6 separate regions of the Homo sapiens genome follow, and regions 1, 2, 3, 5 and 6 are each linked to region 4. Evidence: promoter capture Hi-C in 16 types of primary human blood cells and fetal thymus (Javierre and others, 2016). All regions are on one chromosome and are shown on one strand. The core of a region is centred on a gene start or on the middle of the fragment in contact, and the rest is flanking DNA. Distances in the headings are between cores, read along the strand shown.

Region 1 (2,700 bases), core at 34-2,533, 1.8 Mb before region 4:
GGATTACTTTGTAAGAGAAGTCTTTCAGGTAAATATTTGAATGCATCTGTACAATGATTTATTACAGTTACTTATCTGTAATTAATTGTACAATTATTTATTACTCTTATAAGGCATTCTTATGCAAATGAACGCCTGGAGCAATTAGTACAACTCTTTAGAAAGTAGGCATAAGATAAATATTGTTCAAATATGTCAGACAAGGCTACTTGTTTTTATTAACTTTTTAAAATGAACTCCTGAAGAGGTTTTGGTATAACTGTTTTTCTGTCTCAATCGTGCTTACTTTATTAATTTGCTCAGCAAGGTCTTTATAGATAATCTAGATTGTAAACTTAAGCCAGCATAACCCTTATCTGGATGGCCATACATTCTGAATGACTGATATGCAAATTAATCAATGCATTGAACCCCCACAATCATCTAGTGCCTGAGAAATAGTGAGAAATAGTCAGCTCTTTAAAAATGTGCACGCTACCCTCTTGTTGGCCTTAAAGTGGATTCAATGCTAAATACTGATTTGGTAAGAACAAAACAGTGAATCTGCTACAGTGTTGATGATGGAGGGATGGGAGAGACAATAATATCATTATTTTCTAGGACTCTACAAAATACTTTTACTGACATCATTTTATTCAACGGAACCCCCAAAAGTTGAAAAACTAGGTATTATTGCCAACCTTCTACCTCCTTTCCCTTTCTTGAAATAAAACTCTTAGGTTACTGGACTCACCCAAAGCCACCAAACAACTACATGGTGGGGAGGGTGAATCCAGTTCTTCCACACACTAAATCTAGATTCTTTCCACTGTATTTTACCGTATCCCATTAGGAAAATATTTGCAGAGTTATACGAACATTTCTACCTCACAGAGATTATACATTCTTGGCCTGGGGACGGAATCTAGCCTTCAGACCTCTTTTGTTTTGCCTGAAGAGTTTTTGAATTTGAATTAGTTACTATTATTTTAAAAATGGTAAGAGATTAAATCTGCGATTTTCACTTCATTTGCAAAATAGTTTTGGCAACAATCAGCTAGAACTTAGTAGGGACATCCCCCTTGAGAGTAGGCACATCTATTTCAGAATGCCACAGACCTCACCACTCCTTACCATATCCCTCAGTACTGTTATCTGCTATTTTTCATCATAAAACAAGATCTCTTCATTCATTTTTATTACCTATCTGGTTCCTGATATAAAGTAAATTGTCTGTGGACTAAGCAGATCTCTACAGATACCGTTAGTAATTTTCCTCATCCAATTTGGACAGGGTAATCTTTATGCATCTTTCTAGCCCTGGTTCCCTACAGTCAACAACCTTTTTATCTTAATTTTCTTCATTAAATTGTTCCCCTAATGGAACAGAGAGACAGCTTTGAAATTGAAGATTTCTTCAGCTAAAAATTCCCACAAATTTCCCTTGAGTCATACTTTAATAGTTGGAATTGGACCTGTCTGGAATTACTAGAATTATTCCCCATACCACTTTCAAGTCTGTTTCAAATTATTTTGACTAACTCATTTTCCAACTCCCTCCCTCCATCTCTGTCCTGCCAGAATGTAAATTCTCTGAGGTCAGAAGATTCTGGTCTTGTCCACTACTAAAATCTTAGGCCAGGTACAATGACTGGCCACACGGCAGGTGCTCAGTAAATATTTGTTTACTGAATGAAGGTAAAAATGATGAATCGTAAGTGGATGTTACTGGAGCCCTCTCAGTGTGGTCTTTCAGACCTAGCTGCCTGTTGTGTGGTCTTCTGTATGAACAGAGTCCTCTCTTCTCAGCAATCTTTTGGGAAATAATTCATTTCCTAGACACAGAAAAGGATCTAGCTCCAAAATTTGTTAACTTTGTTTATTGATAAAAATACTCCTTCAAAATATCAGTTTTTGTATTGAACTAACATTTACAGAAAACCTAGCCTTTAAGAAAACAGAGTTATATTTCTTAGGTTAACTAAACTGATTTGCTCAGACTTCAAATCTACACTGGGGTTTTTTGTTTGTTTGTTTGTTTTTTCACTGTGCCAAGTTGAAAATGGTTTTCAGCCCATCCAGCCTCTTTTCTTAGGGTCAAAAGTCTTTCATGTATGCCTCAGGGCTGCAGAAGAGCTTTGCTGTCACTTGCTTTTGCTTTATTTTAGCCTTTACTCACTTGCCAACAACTTATAAGGAAAAAAGTAAGTGTAGCGAAGGTACTTATATCTGGCTTCCAGTCACTTTTCAGGATGCTTCCTAAATGCTAACTGCCCTCAAACATTTTCGTTTTCTCTCTTCTATTTTCTTCCCTGTTCTAACTTGACTATTTTCATCCTACTTTTTAAATTTAAAAAAATATATAGAGAGTCCTTCTTGCTTTTCTCACCATGGTTTGCTTTGAAGGGTAATGAGAAAGATTCAGACACAGGCTGTTTCTTTATCGCTTAGGTCTTGGACTCCCCTTCTTATTCAGCATCCTATCCTTCATCACTTAAGCTACTGTAGATATGAAGGATTTTCTTTATATCTTTTAAAAATTCTTCTGAACGTTTAAAATGCATTTGAATGTTAGGTCTCTTTCTTCCTTTTTTTTTTTTTTTAAATAAATTGATTCTTCACTTGCTTTTCACAAAATCACAGGATTTTAAGTTGGAAGAAACTTTAAAGATATGCTACCAGTCTCCTTGTTTTACAGATGAAGAAACTGAGACAAGACTC
Region 2 (2,700 bases), core at 182-2,681, 1.7 Mb before region 4:
TACATACATGTTACAGCTGAGGAAACTGAAAAATTGGGGCTGCTTCTCACTGATAGGTGGTAACGCTGAGATCTGGACCAGGTATCTGGCTCCACTATGGGTGGAGATCTGGGTCCAGATTCAGGCCTGTTTGACTGCAGAGATGAAATGCACAATTTCGTCACCAAGAAAATAACAGTAAAGGTAAAAAGATTACCCCAAATTTCGAAGTCATTCTAAAAATTCTCATATTGGAACTATGTAATCATGATTCTGAAATCCAGAGAAAAAGGAACAAATTCTAACTCAAGAGATCAGGTCATATTTGAAGAGAAGGTATAGTAGGCTAAATAATGGTCCCCCCAAATATCTCAACATCCTAATCTTTGGATAGTGAATATTTTACCTTTTATGGTAAAAGGGACTTTGCAGATGTGATTAAGTTAACCATCTTGAGTTGAGGAGATTTATGCAAATTATACTGGTAAACCCAATGTAACCATTAGGATCCTTATGAGAGGGAGGCAGTAGAGTTAGTCAGAGAGAGAAGATGAAGAATATGAATAGAGGTAAGAAAGGAGGAAGATACTACACTGATGGCTTTCAAGGTGAAAAAAGGGAAACCCTGAGGAAGGTGGCATGGGGAAGCTTAAAAAGGCTAGAAAATGAGTTCTAGAGTTTCCAGAAGGAATTCAGCCCTATTAACATGTTGATTTTAGCCCAGTGGGATCTCTATTTGGCTTCTGACCTCTAGAACTATAAGACGACAAAGCCCCAGGGAAATGCAGATGCAGAGACTACTGGATCCCAGGACGTGATGTATTCTGGTGGTGGCTCTGCTCTCAAAATGGTGCCATGTTGCAGCAGGTTAGGTCCCAGGAGGTGGGGTGATCCCTATGATAGTAGTTATAGGAAATTAATAAGGAGGTAACGATCCAGCTAATCTTAAAAGGCAAATAGGAATTATTTTAAAAGCTTAAAAATATTTAAGGTAGAGGAAACCATTTGTTAAGAGACCTAAAGACACCACCAAAAAACTCCTGGAACTGATAAACAGATGCAGTAAATTTGCAGGATACACATCAACATACAAAAATCAATAGTGTTTCCAAACCCCAGTGAAACAAAGTAGATGAGAAAGAAATCAAAAGAGAAATCCCATTTATAATGATGACCAAAAAAACCCCACTTAGGAATAAATTTAACTAAGAAGGTGAAAGCTCTCTACAATGGAAAGTACAAAACAGTAATGAAAGAAATTGAAGAGGAATAAAAAAAAATGAAAAGATTCTGTGCTGATGGAATGGAAGAATTAATATTGTTGAAATGACCATACTGTCCAAAGCAATCTACAGTTTCAGTGCAAACCCTACCAAAATATCAAGCAAATTATTTGAAGAAATAGAAAAAACAATCCCAAAATTCACATAGAACCACAAAAGAGCCCAAATAACCAAAGCAATGTTGAGCAAAAAGAACTAAGCTAGAAGCATCACACTACTTGACTTCAAAATGTGCTACAAATTCATAGTAATCAAAAGAGCATGGCATTGTTATAAAAACAGACACATAGACCCATGGAACACAACAGGGAATTCAGAAATTATCCATGTATTTATAGCCAACTGATTTTCAACAAAGATGCCAAGAACTTACATTGGAAAAAGGACATCTTAATGATGCTTAGTAAACTGGATATCCATATGAAGAAGAATGAAACTAGACTTCTATCTTTCACTATATATAAAAATCAACTCAAAATGAATTAAAGACTTAAATATAGACCCAAAACTAAAAGACTATTAGGAAAAACATGGAGAAATCGCTTCAGGACATTGATCTTTTAGAAAAGTTTTTGTGGGTACGACTTCAAAAGCACAGACAACAAAAAACAAAATAGACAAATGAGACTACATCAAACTAAAAAGCAAAGCTTTCTCCTTGCTTGTGCAAAGGATTGTTTCCTCTGCACAACAAAGAAAACAATCAACGTAGTGAAGAGACAGTCTGTAGCATGGGAGAAAATATTTGCAAACCATACATCCAATGAGGAACTAATATATAGAATATACAAGGAACCCAAACAGCTTAACAGCAGTAATAAGAATAATCTGATTGTAAAATGGGAAAATGATTTGAATAGACATTTCTCAAAATAAGACAGACAAATGGCCAATACATATATGAAAAAGTGCTCAATATCACTATAATTAGAGAACTGTAAATCAAAGCCACAGTGAGATGTTATCTCACTCTCCTTAGGATGTCTATTATCAAAAATATAGCAAATGGGCATGGCGGTGCATGCCTGTAGTCCGAGCTACTTGGGAGGATGTGCTGGAGGCTTCCTTGAGCCCAGGTGTTTGAAGCTAGCCTGGGCAACATAGTGAGACCCCTGTCTCTGAAAACACACACACACACACACAAAAGTAACAAAATAAAATTCACCAGAATGTGTGAGGATGAAAAGAAATTGAAACTCATATATACTATTGTTGGAATGTAATTTAGTACAGACATTATGGAAAACAGTAGGGAAATTTCTCTAAAATCTAAAAATATTACTACCATATGATCCAGCAATCCCACTATACTGGGTATTTATTCAAATAAAAGGAAACCAGTTCGTCAAAGAGATATGTGAACCCCCATGATTATTGTAGCATTATTCACAATAGATATAGACTCAATCTAAATGGTCATCAGCAGATGAATGGATAC
Region 3 (2,700 bases), core at 163-2,662, 1.6 Mb before region 4:
AGGGGTCCTGGCAATTGAGAAGCCTTGAAATGGAATCTCTAATGGTGACAAATCCATCTTGCTTCTAATTATATTTTTGAAAGTCATTGTTTTCCATTTTGACAAATGACTCTAAATTACTTTTCACTTCCCAAGCACCAGGTGTATATATCACATGGCGACTCATTTTAAAGAATAGCTCTTACATTTTGTTTTTTCAGGCAACATAAAATCTAGAGTATGTCTCTCAAACGATAATCTTTTCAACACTCTGGGGTCCTACTTAGATTTATATACAGTCTAGGGAATATTTTGTTTTTTTTTTTTAATCCACTGACTCTACAACCTCTAAATATGGCCAAACTGATGTTTTTATCAAATTGATTTCTAAAACTTGCCTTGGTGACAAAAATAGTTAAATTCCCCCAGAGTTCAGCCCAAAGTCCAGAAAAATTAAATTCATAAGAATTATACCATGAATGTTGATATAGTTTCAACTTGGATATGTGGCAGATCTATGGTGTTTGAAATGAGAGAAAAAACATACTTTACATAATACTATGACAGTAGCAAATTGGCCAGACATGGTGGCTCACTCCTGTAATCCCAATACTTTGGGAGGCTGAGGAGGGTGGATCATGAGCTCAGGAGTTCTAGACTAGCCTGGTCAACATGGCGAAACCCCATCTCTACTAAAAATACAAAAATTAGCTGGGCATGGTGGTGGGCACCGGTAATCCCAGCTACTCAGGAGGCTGAGGCAGGAGAATCGCTTGAACCCAGAAGGCGGAGGTTGCAGTGAGCCAAGATCTCACCACTGCATACCAGCTGGGGCGACAGAGTAAGACTCTGTCTAAAAAGATAGATAGAAAGAAAGAAAGAAGGAAGGAAGGAAGGAAGGAAGGAAGGAAGGAAGGAAGGAAGGAAGGAAGGAAGGAAATTATCTCTTGCACACAGCATGGAAAAAGAAAAAATAGCCTACTTATTTTCTTGCGTAAAATCATGTCTTCTTATTACAGTAAAAGCTTAAAAGAGTTAAAACCATGAACAAATCACATTTGTGTTCTGCTCACAGATAACAATTATAGGTTAAACATTATAAACATTTATGTGAACTCATGAAGTGCAGAAGTCAACAAACAAGAAAATGAGTACTTCACCTACTTTTGAAATGTTACTTGATCGACTTGCAGATCGCCCTGGGGATTTTTCATTCTGAAAAATAAAATGGGAAACATTAATTAAAAGAAGGTATGGTACTTTCACCATACTGTACCACTGAGAAGAGAAACCACAGCACAAGGAAATCTGTGAATGCTCTCTATATTGTTTTGACTAATACACATATTAATTGCTTACACAGAATGCTTTTTTCTTTTATGAAATCATATTTCTCTAATATATATTAGTGTACTTTAAAAATGCTTCAATTAATATCTGAGTATTAATCAGGTTACAAGTATTTGTTTCCAGGAAATAATTATTTCTCCAGAAAAATTTTTGAAATTCTTCGGCACTAAAATTAGACAGTAAAACTGTAGTCTACCATTTCCCCTCTTGCCCTTGCAACTAGGAAAGTTTGAGTCAATTCTGGTTTTCAATATCATTAAATATTCTGTGCTGGGTATATGCTATATACATCCACCTCGTATTCTTCTAAACTGCATTTTATTTATTTTTTGTTATTTTACATACTCTGAAATTAAAACATTTACTTTTTAAAATTTAAGATGCTTCTGACTGTATATGTTTCAATTAAAACTTAAAACTTTTATAAATATTTATATCCTCAGTTCTTTCCTCTTAAAGAATTTTTTTATTTAGCAGAAAAGAGGCATGAAAAAAGCTTTTGAATAAATGTTTTTTAAAAGGTCATATAATTTTAAAGTAGAAATGGACCTTAAGTAGTTGGGCCCTCCCGTTTGAAGCCCAGAGACATTGTGTTCCTGAAAATTATATAGCTACTTTTTCTACTCTGCCAATTATGTGCTGATAGATGATCAACTGGAAAAATCAGAGTTTATAAGCATTATGCATTCTACATGTAGAAAGAGATCAAAGATCAAAGGACACCTCTACTTCTGTAGAGAAAATGTTGTTGGAACAATCAATTCTGAATACTAAAAGTTTATAAAGGATCTGACATAACATTGTCATTGAAATAATTTACCAATGTAAGAATTCCTTTTGTTTTTTTTTTAACTTCTGGACTCAGCCCCAAAGTGGGCCTGAGTAGGCAACTGCAATGCATCTTGACATAGGTCATTTTTGAGAACTAAGTTGTTATAACAACCCGTGGGGCTGAAATTGCCCATGATGACTACTTGAGACAGTTTTAGAGACACAGTGATGACAGGATATGGCAGATGTGTTATTGCAGAAAAACAGTGGCTGCATTCACTGCAAACTGTCACTGTGTCATGTGCAGGCTTACAGATATTCCAGCTGAACAGTACTTTTTCCTTTACATGCAACATCCATCTCATACAACCACTGATGTCACTGTGGAGCATGTTATTACAGACCGAGATGAGTCACAACGATACGGTTAGTTACAGCTCATAACAGCCCCATGCTCCAGCTGGAGATTAATGTATATGCTACCACAGACATTTTTCCCTGATTAGCTCCACTGGTGATGGAGGGAGGCACTTTTCTACTGACGTCTCAACTCCTCTTCTAGAGACTAGAAAACAAAATCAATCCATCTTTCCTTCTCAG
Region 4 (2,700 bases), core at 90-2,589:
CTGACTCTGACAACCAAGGGACAGATCCCATTTCTTTTCATTTGACGTGACCGCTGTCATGATACTTTACAAAGAATGTGTGTGCCAAACATGAGGGATAGACGAATAAGTACAGGTCACACTGAATCTAAAAAAGACACTTTTCAAGAGGGAACTTCCTCAAGGAGATAGTACCTGAATTGATGGGGCGGCATGGAGATGGCTGATTATTCCAGGCAGAAGGGCCAGTTTGAGCAAAAGCATGGAGGAATGAAACAATAGTATTCTGTTTTCAGAAGCTGTATATATTTGACACAATATACACATAATCAAAACATGTGTACGCCGTAAACACAATTTTTGTCAATTATACCTTAATAAAGAAGGAGGAAAAAGGGCCTTCACTAGCCCAAATGATGCCCCTGTGCGGTTTTTTCTTTAAAGGCACCTCTTCCGTTAAGTGAAAGTTTTAGTATATTATCACATCTGTACAGTTTTATTATTAAACCCCAGTACACAATATTTTAATGTTGAGAGATGGTGTAAACTGAGCTTTAGAGCTGCAAAGACCTGCGTCAAGCCCCCGCCCCCGCCCCCGCCCCCGGGCACTCATCGTCCAGCACAACAATTGCAACAACACCTGGGCGTTCTCTGCCCATGTAGCGAGGTCAAGGTCCTGGGAGCCGAACTCTCCCTTGATGTTCAATCTTTTTAAATCTTTCCCAGCCTTTATTTCTCATCTGCAAAATGACGATAATCGCATTTGAAATTCTCCGTTTTCAAAATGCAGGAATTTATTAAAGGATACGTAGGCTGGGGAAACAAGGGAGACGAAAGATCTAAATCTAAATGGTAGACCAGAAAAAGGAAGGCAAGGGTGTCTGGAAACACAAAACAGTCAACATAGATTTTAAGACTCATCTATACTCTCTTCTTCCCGGGTTTGGGAACTGCGGTTGCTACACAGGTCACATTTGAAATAAAAGTCCTGGGACGGCGGCCGGCGCGACACTCTCCCCCGCACAGCGCAGGCTCTCACTGGGAATCTGCCGGGACCGCAGTTGCCAAGGCGACTCCGCGCTGCAGGGCGAGGCGGCCATCCGTCTGTGCCCGCCCCCTCACGCCGTGGCGCGCTCTCACGCTTCCCCGCCTCCGGGCGCTCCGCGGTGCCGACCATTGGCTGGCTCTGCAGGTCTCACTATCCTCACTCCATCCGCGGAGCCAATGGCTGGGACCGCCAGGAGCTCGTTCGCGCGAGTCACACGATGTCGGCAACTGCACAGACCAATCACCGCGCCGAGAAGGCGGGGCGGGAGCTCTCGCAGGCCAATAACGACAGGACGGGCCGCCTGGCCCACCCGGCTCCACCCCCAAGCCAGGCGAGGCAGGTTCCGAGGTTGGAACACCTGGCGAGTCCTCGGTGTCGGTGGCCGGCAGTCATCTCGCGGCCGTTCAGGTGAGGGGGTTGGAGGAGTGGCTCATGAGCGAGGAAGGGGGAGCAGGCGGGCTCCCACCCGGTGCTCCGTGAGATCGAGGGGAGCGGGTTCTGGGTGCGGATGCACGCGCTGGGCGGGACGCTGGCAGTGGTACCCGAGACGGGGCGGAAGGAGACTGGAGTGAAGGTGGGCCTAGGCTAAGGTACGTGCTAGAAAGGATGAAAACGGAGTGAAATTCTTAAGTGATGGAACTAGGCTAGGGCATGTTTCTTGCCCTTTAAAATGTGTTGTCTTCGGGAGACAGGACGTAGAAGATAGTTGCAGCACAGGGTGATAGGCTGGCGAAAGTTATACAAAAGCAGGAACCACTAGAAGGAGGTAAGATGTAGTGTGCTTTGGGAGTAGTGGGGTTGGGAAGGGCGTCCGAGAGGAGGTTACTGAAGGATGACTAGGAGTTGAATGGGAGGACATCACCTGTAAGGGAACGATATTTCCGTGGGCAGAGAGGAATGAAGCAGTAGCAACCATGAGTGATCAGATACTGCAAAAATGTGAAGTGTAGGATGGCGAGAATGTAAGAAATGAAGAGTGAAGAAGTCTGGAAGGGCCTCGTGTGCATCAATCACAGCGGGGCTTGATCTTTATGCTTAGGGCAAGCACTCCCTTGAACTTTGAGTGTTTTAAGGAGGTTATCTCTGATGTTTAAATTTATATAGATCGTGGCATTGCATCTTAGAAATAAGGTTTAGGAAGGGCAAGCTTGGAGGCAGGGCAAGTCCAGAAAATGAAGGAGCTGGTGAAATCCGTGTTAAAGTGCCAAAGGACAGAGACTGGCTGACAGCTAAACTTCAAGGTTTCTGAGAATCCACAAATAACTAAATTTATCTAGTCAACCTGTTCCAGAACAGGCTTCCAGTCATTTAGGTTGCCCAAGAATGAGTAAAGGAAAAGGAAATTCAATTTTCCAAGACCTTGTTTCCCCTCTCCTCTTTAATTCCTTGTTCGGTTAGCAACAGTATATCCATTCCCTCGCTCCTTTGTGAAAAGTAAATTCCTGAATGTTAACTAAACCAAGTGTTTCTAAATTGGGTAAGAGTTTGAAGACTTAAGGCAGCAGAATGGGAGAGACTTAAAACGTTATGTCTGAGAATTAGGCATTAAAGGAGGCCTAGTATTTGGGCGGGGGTTGTGAGGAGCACATACTGAACCTTTGGACCTGTTGAGTGAGTTCATGTGCCTCTGAACTCTCTGACTGGATATGACCAGTAAACTTGGATAATTAGAT
Region 5 (2,702 bases), core at 110-2,609, 1.6 Mb before region 4:
AAATTTTTTAATGTTCCTTATAATTTTCATAGTAAAGTTCTCTTTAACTGAGTCCAAGGATCTTCCATGATCTGGTCTATACTTATTTCAGGTTTCCCTCTCTGTCACTTTTCCAGATGCAACCGTTTGATCCAACTACCAGCAGTTCCAGAATATCATGCTCTTTTGTTTCTCTATAGCTTTGCTACATTTCTTGTTTTAAATCTAATATTAATTTATTTTTTAAAACTAAGCTTACGCTTAACCTACCCAGAAAGCCTTTTGAGATACCACAGTCCAATTTGGATCCCTCTTGTTTGTGACACTATAATATCTTCCTTGTGTCTTTTAAAAACATTCAGGACTATTTCTTTGAAGTTATAGGTAACTAGTACTTGTGTCTTTGTCAAACCTAATAATCTTTCTCAGTATTACTCCTCCCTAAGCTCTTTGGGGAATCTGCTCCCTGGAACACCAGCTCTTGTTGAAACATACTCTCTTTGGTGTTCTGTGGGTCGTCACTCTCTAGATTTGCTCATCTGTCTCTTGCCACATCTGAATTCTTCCAGGCTCCTTGTCATCCTTCCTCTGTGGAACTAGGAGTGTTTCTTGCCATTCTATCTTTAGACTTCTAAACTTTTTTTCTACATATTCTCCCTGGAATATCATTTCTTATATTTAGAACCACCACTTCTAAGGGATAAATCCTGTATCTTCATTTTTAATCCAGACTTGTGTTACATGATGCTTCACTATGACTTAAAACACTTTCACAACACTTATTGAAGTTTACCATTATGTATTTCTATAATTTATTATTGCTTGAATGACTCATTACACTGTAAATTGTATGGCTCATCATTGTATTTCTAGTTGCCTAGCACTGTGTCTAATACATACATACATACACACATATATATTATTGAGTACCTAATAATATATGTAATACATTATGTAATATTAACATATTTAATAAATATATTAAATATTATTTATATGTAATAAATATGGTGCATTAGGTGCTCATTAGATGAATGCTAACCAGATATTAAAGGGAACTAACTTATTTGCGAACAGCATCGGTAAACAGTATCTCCATATTTTAAAGGGCTGTGCTATCACATGCATATGGGAATTGCTAAGATATCTCCCTTTTCCTGACTAGTTTTCCGACTTTTTTATACCATTAACCATTTTCAGGCTATATAAAGAAAGAAAGATTGATAGAAAAAAAGGGCTATAACGTGTGGTTGGGAGAATGTTTCCATCTATCTCAAGCCAAGTAAGGGAAGCTCTTTAGGAAAACCTTGAGCAGAGTTTTCAGAACTGGCATGTACAGTTACACAGGTAGTATACTGCCCCCTAGGGGTGATAGTCACATCATAGGCTGATATAGTTTGGTTATGTTCCCCTCAAATCTCATCTTGAATTGTAGTTCCCATAATCCCCATATGTCATGGGAAGCACCCATGACATATAATTCAGGTAACTGAATTATGGGGGGTGGTTACCCCCATGCTGCTGTTCTCATGATAGTGAGTACTCATGAGACCTGATGGTTTTATAAGGGGCTTTTCCCCTTTTGCTTGGCACTTCTCTTCCTACTGCCATGTGAAGAAGGATGTGTTTGCTGCTTCTTCCACCATGATTGTAAGTTTCCTGAGGCTTGCCCAGCCATGCTGAACTGTGAGTCAATTAAACCTCTTTCCTTTATAAGTTACCCAGTCTCAGGTACTTCTTCATAGCAGTGTGAGAACAGACTAATACAGTAAATTGGTAGCAGTAGAGTGGGGTGTTGCTGTAAGGATACCAGAAAATGTGGAAGCAACTTTGGAACTGGGTAATAGGCAGAGGCTGGAATAGTTTGAAGGACTCAGAAGACAGGAAAATGTGGGAAAGTTTGGAACTTCCTAGAGACTTGGAGGGCTCAAAAGACAGGAAGATGTGGGAAACTTTAGAACTTCTTAACTTGTTGAACAGCTTTTACAAAAATGCTGATAGTGATATGGACAATGAAATCCAGGCTGAGCTGGTCTCAGATGGAGATGAGGAACTTGTTGGGAACTATAAAAGTTGTTCTTACTATGCTCTAACCAAGAGACTGGCAGCATTTTGCCCTTGCCCTAGAGATAGTGAAACTTTGAACTTGAGAGAGATCATTTAGGGTGTCTGGTGGAAGACATTTCTAAGCAGCAAAGTATTCGAGAGGAAACAGAGCATGAAAGTTTGGAAAATTTGCAGCCTGACAATGTGATAGAAAAGGAAAAACCCATTTTCTGGGGAGAAATTCAAGCCAGCTGCAGAAATTTGCATAAGTAATGAGGGGCCGAATGTTAATCACCAAGAGACAATGGGGAAAATGTCTCTAGGGCACGGCAGAGACCTTTGTGGCAGCACCTCCCATCACAGGCCTAGAGGCCTGGGGGGAGAAATGGTTTAGTGCCGCGGGCCCAGGGACCCCCTGCTCTGTGCAGCCTCGAGACGTGGTGCCCTGCATTCCAGCTGCTTAAGCTTCAGGTTCAGCCATGGTTAAAAGGGGCCAAGGTACAGCTTGGGCCAGATTAGTTCCCATAATCCTCACATGCTGTGGAAGGGACCCAGTGGGAGGTAATTGAATCATGGGGGTGGTTACCCCCATGCTGCTGTTCTCATAATAGTGAGTTCTCATGACATCTGATTGTTTTATAAGGGGCTTTTCCCCCTTTGCTCAGCAGTTCTGTTCC
Region 6 (2,700 bases), core at 59-2,558, 1.7 Mb before region 4:
AATACCTAGGTGATGGGTTGATAGGTGCAGCAAACCACTATGGCACATGTTTACCTATGTAACAAACATGCACATCCTGCACATGTACCCTGGAACTTAAAATAAAAAGGATCAAGAAAAGAAAAAAAAATGATTTAGCTGGATATATCATTTTATATTAACAATTTATAAAATCTTTTCATAATAGTATGCTGTTGTTCTCTGGATTTTATTGTTTTCATTGAAAAATATGGTATTAGTTTATTTAGAGTCAGCCATCTTTCTTGTTCTGCTCTTCCTCATTGTCTTTTGTGTATTGCATTCACTACATTTCTCTAGTCTAGATTTTTACTCAGAAGGTATAAATGTTCCTAAATCTAAGGATTCATGATTTTCATGAATTTCATTAAACACTGTTATCTTAAAAGTATACATCTGATCTTTGACAAACCTCACAAAAACAAGCAATGGGGAAAGGATTCCCTATTTAATAAATGGTGCTGGGGAAACTGGCTAGCCATATGCAGAAAACAGAAACTGGACCCCTTCCTTACACCTTATACAAAAATTAATTCAAGATGGATTAAAGACTTAAATGTAAAATCTGAAACCGTTAAAACCCTAGAAGAAAACCGAGGCAGTACCATTCAGGACATAGGCATGGGCAAAGACTTCATGACCAAAACACCAAAAGCAATTGCAACAAAAGCCAAAATTGACAAATGGGATCTAATTAAACTAAAGAGCTTCTGCACAGCAAAGGAAACTATCATGAGACTGAACAGGCAACCTACAGAATGGGAGAGAATTTTTGCAATCTACCCATCTGACAAAGGTCTAATATCCAGAGTCTACAAGGAATTTAAACAAATTTACAAGAAAAAAAAAACCCCATCAAAAAGTGGGCAAAGGATATGAACAGACACTTCTCAAAAGAAGACATTTATGCAGCCAACAAACATACGGAAAAAAGCTGACCATCACTGGTCATTTGAGAAATGCAAATCAAAAGCACAATGAGATACCATCTCGCACCAGTCAGAATGGCGACTATTAAAAAGTTGGGAAACAACAACAGCTGCTGGAGAGGATGTGGAGAAATAGGAATGCTTTTACACTGTTAGTGGGACTGTAAATTAGTTCAACCATTGTGGAAGACAGTGAGGCGTTTCCTCAAGGATTTAGAACCAGAAATACCATTTGACACAGCAATCTCATTACTGGGTATATACCCAAAGAATTATAAATCATTCTACTATAAAGACACATGTACATGTACGTTTACTGCAACACTATTTACAATAGTAAAGACTTGGAACCAACCCAAATGCCCATTAATGATAGACTGGATAAAGAAAATGTGGCACATATATATGAAGGAATACTATGCAGCCATAAAAAATAATGAGTTCAAGTCCTTTGCAGGGACATGGATGAAGGTGGAAGCCATTATTCTCAGCAAACTGACACAGGAACAGAAAACCAAACACTGCATGTTCTCATTCATAAGTGGGAGTTGAACAATGAGAACACATGGACACAAGGAGAGGAATGTCACACACCGGGGCCTGTCGGTGGGTGGGGGTCAAGGGGAGGGAGAGCATTAGGACAAAGACCTAATGCATGAGGAGCTTAAAACATAGATGACGGGTGGATAGATGCAGCAGTCCACCATGGCATATGTATACCTATGTAACAAACCTGCACATTCTGCACATGTATCCCAGAACTTAAAGTAAAACTTAAAAAAAAAAAACTGTAATTGTTTGACTTTCAAAAAGTTGCGTTAAAGCACATGTAATGAGAAACTGGTTTATGATCACTTGGAAGATTTGTATAGTTTTATAAAACTCAATTAAAATGTCTGTTTCAATGACCTGTATTCTGCCAGACTTAATCACAGACGGATATTAAACTTGTCAGAATTTCTTCAATTCTCATTCAAGCCTGTGAATAAACACTCTGTATGACACTTATTTTGAGCCTATTAAAGAATCCAAATTCAAAAAAATTCCCATTTTTCTCTGACTCATGTTTCCCCATTCTTTCTCATCTATTATGTAATTCAAAGTAGACCTAGGTTATAATTTTCACTCTGATTCTTCCTCTGTAGACACATCACCTTCAGCTCATTGAGGTATTATATTTCTTTAGGTATTTACACTTTGTATTCCTAAAAATTTGATAATCTTGGTTGTATTATCACTATTTATTTAATTGGATGCTGTTTATTGACTTGTTACTGTGGAAATTTAGTTGTCTTTCTGATTCTTCCTGAACTCCTCCCTTGCCCATCCATCTCTTTCTTCTGTTCTCCAAATAAGATTGTATAATAATTTGGCTACACGAATATTAAGTCACCTGCTATGCTAACTTTTTGCTACTAGCTGTCTTTTTGCTTTTTGCTTAATTTTCTATGATCTTCCCTGAAATTCATCCCTCATCTTGCTAGAAGTTATATTTTCTCTCCACACTCGAATACATCAGAAAATCTATTAATTTTATTTTGTTTTTCATAGTACTTTCCTCTGGAGCCTTCTGTTCTTCTGTGATCTGAAATTTTGGCTTTTTAGGCATGATTTCAAGCTGTTGCTTTGCCCTGACAACTTTCTTTGCCATCATTCTGGGGATTCCCTTTGTGTCTCTCCTATTTTGGAAGCCCTTTTTCCTGAATCCAGTATCTTCATTTTTCTAGATGCTTTTCTTTTTTTCAAAAAAATA

The links. Contacts are between HindIII fragments. The CHiCAGO score rates a contact against its expected background, and 5 or more counts as called.
Region 1: a contact is called between a fragment that was not itself captured here and the fragment with the promoter of MSMO1 in region 4, in 1 of 17 cell types (total B cells). The highest score is 8.4, in total B cells.
Region 2: a contact is called between a fragment that was not itself captured here and the fragment with the promoter of MSMO1 in region 4, in 6 of 17 cell types (naive B cells, M0 macrophages, M2 macrophages and 3 more). The highest score is 10.8, in naive B cells.
Region 3: a fragment that was not itself captured here is called in contact with the fragment with the promoter of MSMO1 in region 4 in 1 of 17 cell types (total B cells); the score reaches 7.0 in total B cells.
Region 5: a contact is called between a fragment that was not itself captured here and the fragment with the promoter of MSMO1 in region 4, in 4 of 17 cell types (non-activated CD4 T cells, activated CD4 T cells, total CD4 T cells and 1 more). The highest score is 7.9, in non-activated CD4 T cells.
Region 6: a fragment that was not itself captured here is called in contact with the fragment with the promoter of MSMO1 in region 4 in 6 of 17 cell types (total B cells, naive B cells, M0 macrophages and 3 more); the score reaches 10.2 in total B cells.

Annotation. Positions count from the first base shown.
Region 1 is chr4:163,569,753-163,572,452 of GRCh38, forward strand. All of the region lies in intron 8 of MARCHF1 (membrane associated ring-CH-type finger 1), which reads right to left. Among named protein-coding and RNA genes, the nearest start is that of TMA16, 76 kb to the left of the region's middle. The HindIII fragment of the contact is 8,468 bases long and covers 1-2,700 here.
Region 2 is chr4:163,614,333-163,617,032 of GRCh38, forward strand. The region is part of intron 5 of MARCHF1 (membrane associated ring-CH-type finger 1); the gene reads right to left. Among named protein-coding and RNA genes, the nearest start is that of TMA16, 120 kb to the left of the region's middle. The HindIII fragment of the contact is 958 bases long and covers 953-1,910 here.
Region 3 is chr4:163,699,670-163,702,369 of GRCh38, forward strand. It overlaps MARCHF1 (membrane associated ring-CH-type finger 1), which reads right to left. Exons shown (of 10, transcript NM_001394959.1): 5 at 1,144-1,194. Among named protein-coding and RNA genes, the nearest start is that of TMA16, 210 kb to the left of the region's middle. The HindIII fragment of the contact is 821 bases long and covers 1,003-1,823 here.
Region 4 is chr4:165,326,330-165,329,029 of GRCh38, forward strand. MSMO1 (methylsterol monooxygenase 1) reads left to right here and starts at 1,340. Exons shown (of 6, transcript NM_006745.5): 1 at 1,340-1,435. RefSeq lists a silencer at 939-1,278 and an enhancer at 1,369-1,638. The HindIII fragment of the contact is 2,277 bases long and covers 1-2,172 here.
Region 5 is chr4:163,680,065-163,682,766 of GRCh38, forward strand. All of the region lies in intron 5 of MARCHF1 (membrane associated ring-CH-type finger 1), which reads right to left. All of the region lies in intron 1 of LOC107986325 (a long non-coding RNA gene), which reads left to right. Among named protein-coding and RNA genes, the nearest start is that of TMA16, 190 kb to the left of the region's middle. The HindIII fragment of the contact is 2,257 bases long and covers 232-2,488 here.
Region 6 is chr4:163,658,850-163,661,549 of GRCh38, forward strand. All of the region lies in intron 5 of MARCHF1 (membrane associated ring-CH-type finger 1), which reads right to left. Among named protein-coding and RNA genes, the nearest start is that of TMA16, 170 kb to the left of the region's middle. The HindIII fragment of the contact is 5,960 bases long and covers 1-2,700 here.